3 separate regions of the Homo sapiens genome follow, and all the other regions are linked to region 2. The links are contacts of gene promoters, found by promoter capture Hi-C in blood cells and fetal thymus (Javierre and others, 2016). All regions are on one chromosome and are shown on one strand. The core of a region is centred on a gene start or on the middle of the fragment in contact, and the rest is flanking DNA. Distances in the headings are between cores, read along the strand shown.

What was found. Contacts are between HindIII fragments. The CHiCAGO score rates a contact against its expected background, and 5 or more counts as called.
Region 1: a fragment that was not itself captured here is called in contact with the fragment with the promoter of HS3ST2 in region 2 in 2 of 17 cell types (M0 macrophages and M2 macrophages); the score reaches 6.6 in M0 macrophages.
Region 3: a fragment that was not itself captured here is called in contact with the fragment with the promoter of HS3ST2 in region 2 in 1 of 17 cell types (M0 macrophages); the score reaches 5.4 in M0 macrophages.

Annotation. Positions count from the first base shown.
Region 1 is chr16:22,635,208-22,638,657 of GRCh38, forward strand. No RefSeq gene overlaps it. Among named protein-coding and RNA genes, the nearest start is that of LINC02890, 23 kb to the left of the region's middle. RefSeq lists enhancers at 1-424, 425-980. The HindIII fragment of the contact is 1,386 bases long and covers 901-2,286 here.
Region 2 is chr16:22,812,894-22,816,066 of GRCh38, forward strand. HS3ST2 (heparan sulfate-glucosamine 3-sulfotransferase 2) reads left to right here and starts at 1,269. Exons shown (of 2, transcript NM_006043.2): 1 at 1,269-2,202. The coding sequence starts at 1,718. It overlaps LOC107984851 (collagen alpha-1(XVI) chain), which reads right to left and starts at 1,966. Exons shown (of 4, transcript XR_001752349.2): 1 at 1,814-1,966; 2 at 94-371. The HindIII fragment of the contact is 5,471 bases long and covers 1-2,852 here.
Region 3 is chr16:22,661,796-22,665,164 of GRCh38, forward strand. No RefSeq gene overlaps it. Among named protein-coding and RNA genes, the nearest start is that of LINC02890, 50 kb to the left of the region's middle. RefSeq lists an enhancer at 2,883-3,042. The HindIII fragment of the contact is 1,816 bases long and covers 1,140-2,955 here.

The DNA of each region.
Region 1 (3,450 bases), core at 344-2,843, 180 kb before region 2:
CAAATGAAATAATCAAATGCATTGGCATCCTCATCCATGGGGTTCTCAAGTATATCATCCAAATGCTTTTTGTAAAAAGATGAGAGACCCAGTAAAGAGCCTGCTGCTGGTGGGCTTGGGTATACAGCAAATGCTAGCCAAGTGGTTAAGAGTACAAAATATTTGCTAAGCTAATAGTACTGCCTAGCTCTGTAGCTACCATCAGAATTAAACAAAGAGATAGGCCACTGCATTTCAACAGAATCACCTATGGAGCTTGAAAACATATGCATGTCTGGTCACCACCCACAGATATTCTGATTCCATTGGTATTTTAAACGAGCTTCCCGTGCTATTCTGATGCACAGTCAGGCTTTGGAATCTGTGATCTAGTCTATGGATCATTTGAGTCATCAGAACTTGAATAAGAATTGCTTTCTTTGGATACATCTTTTCTTTATCACATCAAATCAATCTCCCCCCAACCCCCACCTTCCCTCTCCCTTTTTCTCTAGCAGTCAGAAATTCTTAAAAGCTTTTTGCCACTAAACCATCTGCTGGAGAAATCTCCCACTAGGTTTCAAATGCCAAACCTTTCCCAGTAGCAATTTTCTTTATTATTTTGGGGGAAAAGAATGCATTACATTTCTTCCCTATGAAATAAAGTACTTTAAAAATAAAAATGTTCATTATGGAACCATAGCAGTTGCTTATATTTTAAAAAAGAAAATAGCTGTATTAGACATGTGTCCTGGGAGTTTACTCCAGGCTTCCTTCACAGGCTTGATTCGGACTTCAAGGACAGGAAGTGTGGCTGATCATAGCACCACGATGCCCCGGTGAAGAGCAGTCACATAGAGAATGGAGATTAATTTCAGTCAAAGAATAGTAGGATGCTTTCTTGGCTTCCCGATGCCCACAAGCTTTATGGCAGCAGACCACGCTTAAAGCCTAATTTAAAGGTTTATGTAGGTTATAACCTTGTCACACTGCATAATCCCCTCCCAGTTCGAAGTCTTTACCCATTGGCATAAAAACCTATATCCTGTGACAGGGAACAGGAGTGTTAAGAGACTTGGAAAGAATAGGCTGGATGTGGTGGCTCACACCTGTAATCCCAGCACTTTGGGAGGCCAAGGCAGGAGGAATGCTTGAGGCCAGGAGCTTGAGACTAGCCTGGGCAACATAGCAAGACCTGAACTCTCTAAAAGAAAAAAAATAGCTAGGCATAGTGGCACCCGTCTGTAGTCCCAGCTAGTTGGGAGACTAAAGGAGGTGGATTGATTGAGCCCAGGAGTTCAAGGCTGCAGTGAGCTCTGATCCCACCATTGCACTCCAGCCTGGGTGACAGAGTGAGATCCTGTCTATTAAAATAAATACATCTGAAAATGTTGTGTTTTTTTTTCTTTTTTGAGACAGAGTCTCACTCTGTCACCCAGGCAGGAGTGCAGTGGCACAATCTCAGCTCACTGCAACCTCCACCTCCCAGGTTCAAGCAATTCTCCTGCCTCAGCCTCCTGAGTAGCTGGGACTACAGGCATGCACCACCACGCCCGGCTAATTTTCATATTTTTAGTTGAGGCAGGATTCACCATGTTGCCCAGGCTGGCCTTGAACTCCTAACTTCAAGTGATCCACCTGCCTCGGCCTCCCACAGTGCTTGGATTACAGGTGTGAGCCATGGCGCCTGGCCTGGAGATTTCTTAAGAGTCTCATTAGATGATTTTCTAATTCTAAGTAGAAGATCATCTGAGTCCTTTGCAATTCATTGGCTGTGGCAGATGACTAGCTATCCACGAAAAATTCCTGATCCCCTTTCTACAGCATGAAGTGGTTGCTGTGAGGCAACTTCTAGGCCAGCAATGCCATTTCCCAGTTTCCCTCACATCAGCAGGGAGTCATGTGATTAGTTCTCATCACAGGAACACGAGCAGAAGTGATGTGTGTTACCTCTGGGTTAGCTTTACTTATTTATTTATGTTTTGTGAGAGTTTCTCTTCTTTTTTTTCCCCCCAACTTTTATTTTAGAGGTACATGTGCAGGTTTATTGTAAAAGTGTATTGTGTGATGCTGAAGTTTGGAGTACAAATGAGTCTGTCACCCAGGTAGTGAGGATAGTACCCAATAGGTAGTTTTTCAAATCTTGCCCCACTTCGCCCCTCCTCCATTTTGTATTCCCCAATGTCTGTTGTTCCCATCTTTACGTCCATGTGTTAGGTCAGGATTTTTTTTTTTTAAGAAGTGGGTACCCTCTTTCCTTCTTTATTTCTCTTTCCTTCTCTGCCAGCGGAGTGCAGATAATCCCAAAGCTTTAGGGAAAAGTGGAACTGTAAGATGGAAAGAGCCTGGGTCCCTGAATCACTGTGTGGAAGAAAGTTGCCTGTTGATCAGATACACCCCCACTGTGCTTTATGTGCATGAGAAATAAGCAAAACCACTGGAATTGGAGGGATTTTCTTATGACGTTGGTTTGGATCACCCTCATTAACCATACACTGACCAATCATCAGGATACTGAAGACTTTCATCTGGCTGGAGGCACTTTGGCTTCCTGACACAGGGAAGCTGCTAAGAGCAAAGATGGTTTCTAATGTCTGGCACGAAGCATATGGGATGGGTAAAGAGTTTTTGTCCTGTGACAAACATTCTAGGTGAAAAGGGAATAATATTTGTTATCAGAAAAGAGTAGATAAAAATATTAAGGATGAGAGAGGTCTGTAAAAGCCATGCCCATTGTGACAAACAGGCAGACAAATAATTTCTGCCCCTTAAGATGGGAGAGTATTTCTCACCCCAGTCCTGTTCAAGCCTCCAGTAATAGGCTCTGTATTGTCCAAGCACTAACCATGCAGTGACAATTGTGGTAGTAACCAGGGAGGAGGATCCCTTTGCAAATAACATGTATCAATAGCAGTAAATAGGGCCAGAATGCAGTGGCGCGATCATAGCTCACTGCAGCCTCGACCTCCAGGCTCAGATGATCCTCCCACCTCAGCCTCCTAAGTAACTGGGATCACAGCTGCATGCCACAATGCACAGCTAACTTTTTGTATTTTTTTTTTTTTTTTTTTTAGAGACAGGGTCTCCCTATGTCATCCAGGCTAGTCTCAAACTCCTGGGCTCAAGCAATTCTCCCACCTCGGCCTCCCAAAGTGCTGGGATTATAGATGTGAACCAGCCAATAAATATCCTTGAAGGTCTACTACAAACCAGTCAGTAGGTTAGGTACAGTGAGGCCAAAAAAAAAAAAAAAGTTGCCCAACTGTATGTCTTCACAGTGCTTACAAAGCAGTCAGGGTGACAGAACATAATAACAAGAAATATTAAGCAACAGAGGCTAAGTATGAAATAAGTGGGAGGAAGGGAGCTGACACAGGCCTGCAGAAAACAATGAGCACACTCAGGTGCATGACATGACATCAGGGAGAGTCTTGGGTAGCAATCCCAATTCAGCAGCTTGCATCTGGGCGA
Region 2 (3,173 bases), core at 19-2,518:
CTGAGGAAGGAAGTCAGTTATACCCTGATCAGGGTGGGGGTCATGGTGGTCATCTAGACATTCTATGGCTGGGTGGTGGTGGAGGGCACTCACCTTGTGAACACTCGGACATGGTGAATTGGCATTGGCATTGCTGTTGAAGGACAACTCAGCCGTGTTCTTAGCCATGGCCATTTAGGCCTGTTCTGATGCAGGGTTCTGATCCAAGGTACCAGTGTGGTCCCTCAGGGAAGTACTGGGGATCGTCACTTATGCCTGTTCTGGACATGGTCACCGAGAACTGTCCTGTAGGCATTCACTTAGGAATCATTCGAAGTGGAATTGCTCCTGGATACGTTCTCCTTGTACTCTGTTTCCTCCTCCTAGTGTCTCTGTGTGAAGAAGCCCTCCTCACTCAGCCCTCGGCGACCCTCTGGTACCCTGGACAGCTCCCCGGGGAGCAGTCTACCGCTAGGCGGCGGCTGCTAAGAGAGGAACCCTCCTGACGCGGAGTCTGCCGCTCCGGGGCTCGCTCTCCGGCAGGCCCGGGGAGAGGTGGGGTGACAATGGGTTGGGGTGCGCGCGTGCCTCATAGGTGCGAGACAGAGCGAGCCGCCGGGGTGTGAGTCAGCGCGCTGGGGGCTAAGAAGCTGGGTGAATAGTCACGGAATCTCACTCACGCTCGGCTCCTCCACCCATCCCGTCTACAGCGCGTGTCCCAGTCCAGGGCGTGCGTGCGCTCGGTGTCCGATTCCGGGCTGTGTGTGTCCATTTGGCGAGATGTCGAGAGCGGGGGGAGTGTCCTTGTCGGTGTATCTGGGCCCAGGTTAGGGGACTTCTCCTCCCCACCCCCGCGTGGGTGTGGGGGTGTGTCCGGGCTAGGGCGCGTGTGCTTCTGTGCCTGTGCGTGCGTGTGCGGGTCAGGGTGGTGGGACCGCGCATCAGGGCAGGGTGCCTGCGTCTGCGTCTGGGTCTGTCTGGTCTGCATGTCGGCGCGATCTCGACCTGGATTCGTGTCCCTGGATGTCGAGAGGCCAGCGTGGTGGGGGTGTCCAGCCTCCCGGAGGAGTACTATGCCTTGACACCTTCGTTTCACCGCCCCAAAGCTGGCCTGGGGCTCCGTAGGGAGTGGCCTGCATGGGGAGGGCCCGCGTGCTGTGTTTCTGGGAGGGGTAAGAGAGTGGGGGCGCAGGGGGCGGGCCAGGTCCCTGGGCGCGGCGCGGGCTCGGGGGACCCGCGCGGCTGACGTCAGGCCACTCCTTAAATAGAGCCGGCAGCGCGCTCCGCTCGGCATTTCCCGAAGAGCCAGATCGCGGCCGGCGCCAGCGCCACCGTCCGGTCCACCCGCCAGCCCGCACAGCCGCGCCGCCGCCGAGCGTTTCGTGAGCGGCGCTCCGAGGATCAGGAATGGGGCTTCGGGCGCTGGGCGCGCTCCGAACCCGGCGCACGTAAGAGCCTGGGAGCGCCCGAGCCGCCCGGCTGCCCGGAGCCCCATCGCCTAGGACCGGGAGATGCTGGAAATGCAACCGCCTGTTCCCCGAGGAGCCGCTGCCCCCGGGACCCCCTGGCACTGTGCGCACCCTGGTCAGCAGCCCCCGGAGAAGACGGCGCCCCCAACGCCCGACCCGCGTGGCCGTGGCAGCGCCACGCGAGCCCTCTAGGCGACCGCAGGGCCACAGCAGCTCAGCCGCCGGTGCCCCCTCGGAAACCATGACCCCCGGCGCGGGCCCATGGAGCCATGGCCTATAGGGTCCTGGGCCGCGCGGGGCCACCTCAGCCGCGGAGGGCGCGCAGGCTGCTCTTCGCCTTCACGCTCTCGCTCTCCTGCACTTACCTGTGTTACAGCTTCCTGTGCTGCTGCGACGACCTGGGTCGGAGCCGCCTCCTCGGCGCGCCTCGCTGCCTCCGCGGCCCCAGCGCGGGCGGCCAGAAACTTCTCCAGAAGTCCCGCCCCTGTGATCCCTCCGGGCCGACGCCCAGCGAGCCCAGCGCTCCCAGCGCGCCCGCCGCCGCCGTGCCCGCCCCTCGCCTCTCCGGTTCCAACCACTCCGGCTCACCCAAGCTGGGTACCAAGCGGTTGCCCCAAGCCCTCATTGTGGGCGTGAAGAAGGGGGGCACCCGGGCCGTGCTGGAGTTTATCCGAGTACACCCGGACGTGCGGGCCTTGGGCACGGAACCCCACTTCTTTGACAGGAACTACGGCCGCGGGCTGGATTGGTACAGGTAAGGACCAGGAGCTCCGCTCCGTGCGCCGGGTCTCTGATCGCTTCCATTGGGAGAGCCATCCGTCTCTTGTGTTTTCTCTTTCTTTTAACCCAACTCATTGTATGGGTTCAGGCTGACACACAGGGCCATGGGGGGCTATAGCAGAATTTACCCAGAACTTCCCAGTGATAATCTAGACGGGCAGTTTCTGGAACTGCAAAGGGCGTTCCCTCGTCACTGGAGTCGTTGGAAAAGGATTATCTCCAGTCAAACCTAAGTGCCAGCTAAAGGGCTAACTCCCTCTGTGACCAGCCCTTAGGGTGCCCAAGGAAGGGACAGGCGAGGACCTGTGCTGCCTGAACACGGCACCATCCTAACCCTCTGTAGGTCTTTGCTGGTACCCAGCCCCTGAAGGACCCTGAGAAAGATAAGGCAGTTCAGAGACCCCTTGCAGCAAGGCTCTGTTTGGGAAAGGTCCCCAGAGTTCAGGCCAAATGACAGTGCATCGCCAGAGGTCTCCAGTAAGAAAGATGCCTTAGGGAGTCTCAATCTCAAACCCAGGTATTTGCTGCTGTACTGGGGCTGAGACCCCCAGTAGCTCTGGCCCTGGTAGGTGGTCTTTGAGTAGTGGAAAGAGCCCTGGATTCGAGTCTTGGGTCTGTCACTTAAGCTTGAGCAAGTTTCTTAAACTCTATCAGCCTCTATTTTCTCATCCATCCCAATGGGCAGGAAAACAGCCCTTGCCCTGTATACCTTCCAAGGCTTTTCTGAAGTGCCTTAAAGGTGTAAAAAAGGCACTTCACTTTAAGTGATGCTTCTAAACCAGCAGCCAAAATGTGGAATTTGAAGGTGGGCCCTGCGGGTGAAGGCTAGCAAGGGTGCTAGGGGCAGCCAGTCATGCATAGACTGTCTATGCTTCCCATGCATGCCAGGGAGGAGAATTATCCCCACTGGGGGAGTCAAGGCACAGACCAAAGCTTCTGTGAGGT
Region 3 (3,369 bases), core at 798-3,297, 150 kb before region 2:
CTCCCGAGTAGCTGGGATTACAGGCATGTGCCACCACACCCAGCTAATTTTTGTATTTTTAATAGAGATGAGATTTCACCATGTTGGCCAGGCTGGTCTCGAACTCCTGACTTCAACTGATCCACCCATCTTGGCCTCCCAAAGTGCTGTGATTACAGGTGTGAGCCACCACACCCTGCCCCACAAACACTTTTTAATGGCTTCCCGTCAATCTTAGAATAAAATCCCAACTTCCTGTGGAGGGTGGTACATGAGGGCCTGCATCATCTTGTCCACTTCTACCTCCTGGCCCACTGGGTACCAGCCACATGGATCTGTTTCACATTTCTCAAATAAAAGCCCTCCTGCCTCAGGACTGTGTACATGCTGATCCCTCTGAGGTGACACTTGTGTTAATTTCCTCTTTGTGCTGTGACTTCATGACCACGGACTTAGTGGCTTAAAACAACACACATTTCTTATCTTCCAGTTCTGTAGGTCAGAAGTCCAAGATGGATCTCCCTGGGCTAAAATCAAGGGGCATTCTTTCTGGAGGCTCTCAGGATAATCTGTTTCCTTGCCTTTTCCAGAGGTACAGGCAGCCTGCATGCCTTGGCTCATGGCTACATCACTCTGACCTCTGCCTCCATCATCACGTCTCCTTCTCTGACCACCCCCCTGTCTCCCTCCTTCCCTTATTAAGGACCCTTGTGATTACAGTGGAACAACCTAAATCATCCAGGATGATCACCCACCTCATGATTCTTAGTTTAATCACATCCAGAAAGTCTTTACTGCCATGTGAGGTTACATGTTCACAGGTTCTGGTGATCGGGACGTGAACATCTCTAGGGGCCACTGTGCTCTTGTGAAACAGCTGATCCCTCTCCATCTTCTGGTCTTGATTTAAATGCACCTTCCTTAGAGAGGCTTTTGCCAACACCATCTGCATTGACTTCTGATTTTCTCTTCCACAACACCCTGTTATTTTGCTTTATAGCAATTCCTTCAATAAACATGTCTCTATTATGTAAGCCTTTTTAAAATTAGGTAGTCTGTGTCCTAAAGCTGAAGACATCCTTGCTACAAAAACCTTAACAGCCTGCACCTCAGCCCCCTAAGATCCTCTAGTCAGAGGAACCTCCTTCTCTCCACCCAAAAGCTTGGTTCTGCCCTGCCCTGGTCGCACATAACATCTTTTCTTCTTCTTCTTCCTCTTCTTCTTCTTCTTCTTCCTCTTCTTCTTCTTCTTCTTCTTCTTCTTCTTCTTCTTCTTCTTCTTCTTCTTCCTCTTCCTCCTCTTCCTCCTCTTCCTCCTCTTCCTCCTCTTCCTCTTCTTCCTCTTCTTCTTCCTCTTCTTCTTCCTCTTCTTCTTCTTCTTCTTCTTCTTTTTTTTTTGACAGGGTCTTACTGTGTTACCCATGCTGGAGTGCAGTGGCACAATCATGGCTCACTGCAGCCTCCACCTCCCAGGTTCTAGCAATCCTCCTACTTCAGCCTCCCAAGTAGCTGGGACAACAGGTGTGCATCACCATGCCCAGATAATTTTTTATTTTTTGTAGAGATGGGATCTCACTGTGTTGCCCAAGCTGGTCTCGAGCTTCTGGGCTCTAGCTATTCACCTACCTTGAGAAGGAGCAGGAGCATCTTAAAGATGATCTTGGCTTACCCCCAAGTCAGTCTTGCTGCTGAGCTCCAATGTCCAGTTTGGTTGGGATCTCAGTGGCACAGACTTCTCATGCTGTCTCAGTGGGGCACTGGGCTAGTCGGGGAGAAGGTTCAAGACTAGAGGGGCTTAGCTTGTTGACATGAATATGCCCTGCCAGTTACAGTGTTACTAGCAGGACTTTATCCTTGTCTGAATCAGCAAATGGCCTGTCTGGTTAGAGTGCTTGCATGCTCTAAAATGTATGATCTTAATCACAGCTCAGTGAGAATATTTGCAGGCAGAAGACTCTCTGTTTTAGGTTGGGCTCCCTGGAAGCAGACGCTGAGACGAGGATTTGTGTAAAAGTGATTTATTATGAGGGGTTCTCAGAAACACTAGTAGGGGAGTGGGAAAATAGAATGGAGAAGAGAAGAAGCCAAGAAGGGTGTTGGATCAAGCAAGGTCCTACAGGAGGACTGCTGTGGCTCAGTCCCCAGGACAGCTCCAGGGAGAGTTCAGGCTGCTCCTTGCAGTTTTCCGATCAAGACAAGAGAGCTGGCGTGATGTTTCAGAGACAGGGGCTTGCTCTGTCACCAAGGTTGGACTGCAATGGTGCGATCATAGGTCACTGCAGCCTCAAACTCCTGAGCTCAAGCAATTCTCTTGCCTCAGCCTCCCAAATAGCTGGGACTATAGGCACTCACCACCATGTCCGGCTATTTTTAATTTTTTTTTTTTGTAGAGATAGGGTCTTGCTGTGTTGCCCAGGCTGGATTTGAACTCCTGGCCTCAAGTGATCCTCCTGCCTTGGCCTCCCAAAGTGTTGAGATTACAGGCATGAGCCATTCCACCCGGCCAGCTGGCATGCTTCTAAGCCTGCCTTCACCACTAATTGGTTAAGGGCTGGCCTCCAAGGGGAGTGCAAATTCCCAGGCACTCCAGTCTCAGCACACACAGGCAAAGTGAGAGCAGCCCTCTGCCAACATGCAGGTGCTGGCTAAGAGAAAGCACACAAGGAGCTGTGTGCAGAGCGTGGTCTGAGTGCGTGTGGGCAGAGGCCCCAAGAGCCCTGCTATGTGCTCTTATTCCAAGTGGATCCATTAGTTTGTTCTGCACACATTCATCCATCTTCAACTCTGTGCCAGGCTCTGGGCATGCAGGCGACAAAGACACAGCCCTAACCCTCATGAAATTTTTACAGCCAAGTAGGGGAGACAGACATTAAGTTTTAAAAATCCTCCCAAAATGAGGAACTGTGATTGTGAGTAGCGCTGTGGATGAGAAGAACACCTGGGAGGAGACCTCGTCTAGCAGGTGGGCGGGGATGAAGCTTCTCCAAACAAGTGACGCTGAGCCAAGAGCTGAAGGATGAGTAAGAGTGAACCAGGCATAAAAGGGAAGAAGGAGCATTACAAGCCTGGGGTGCATGTGCAAGGGTCCTGGGGCAGGAATCCACAGGAGCAAGTGAAAGGCTGGTGTGACTGGGGTCCGAAGACCCAGGGGAGAGCAGTAAGTGATGAGCCTGTGGGTTGCTGAGGAGTGATTATTCCCCACTTACCACCTGGTTCCTTTTCGAGCCTGTTCAATGTCGTTCAGACCCAGATGTGTGAGCCATTCTCTGGTACGTTCCCTGGAAGCAGAGGGGAAATGGGGACATAGCGAGGATGTTAGGGTGGAAGAGACTATTTTCAATGGTTCATCTTTTCCCCACTGAAGCTTATAGCTGAAATTAATACATAAAT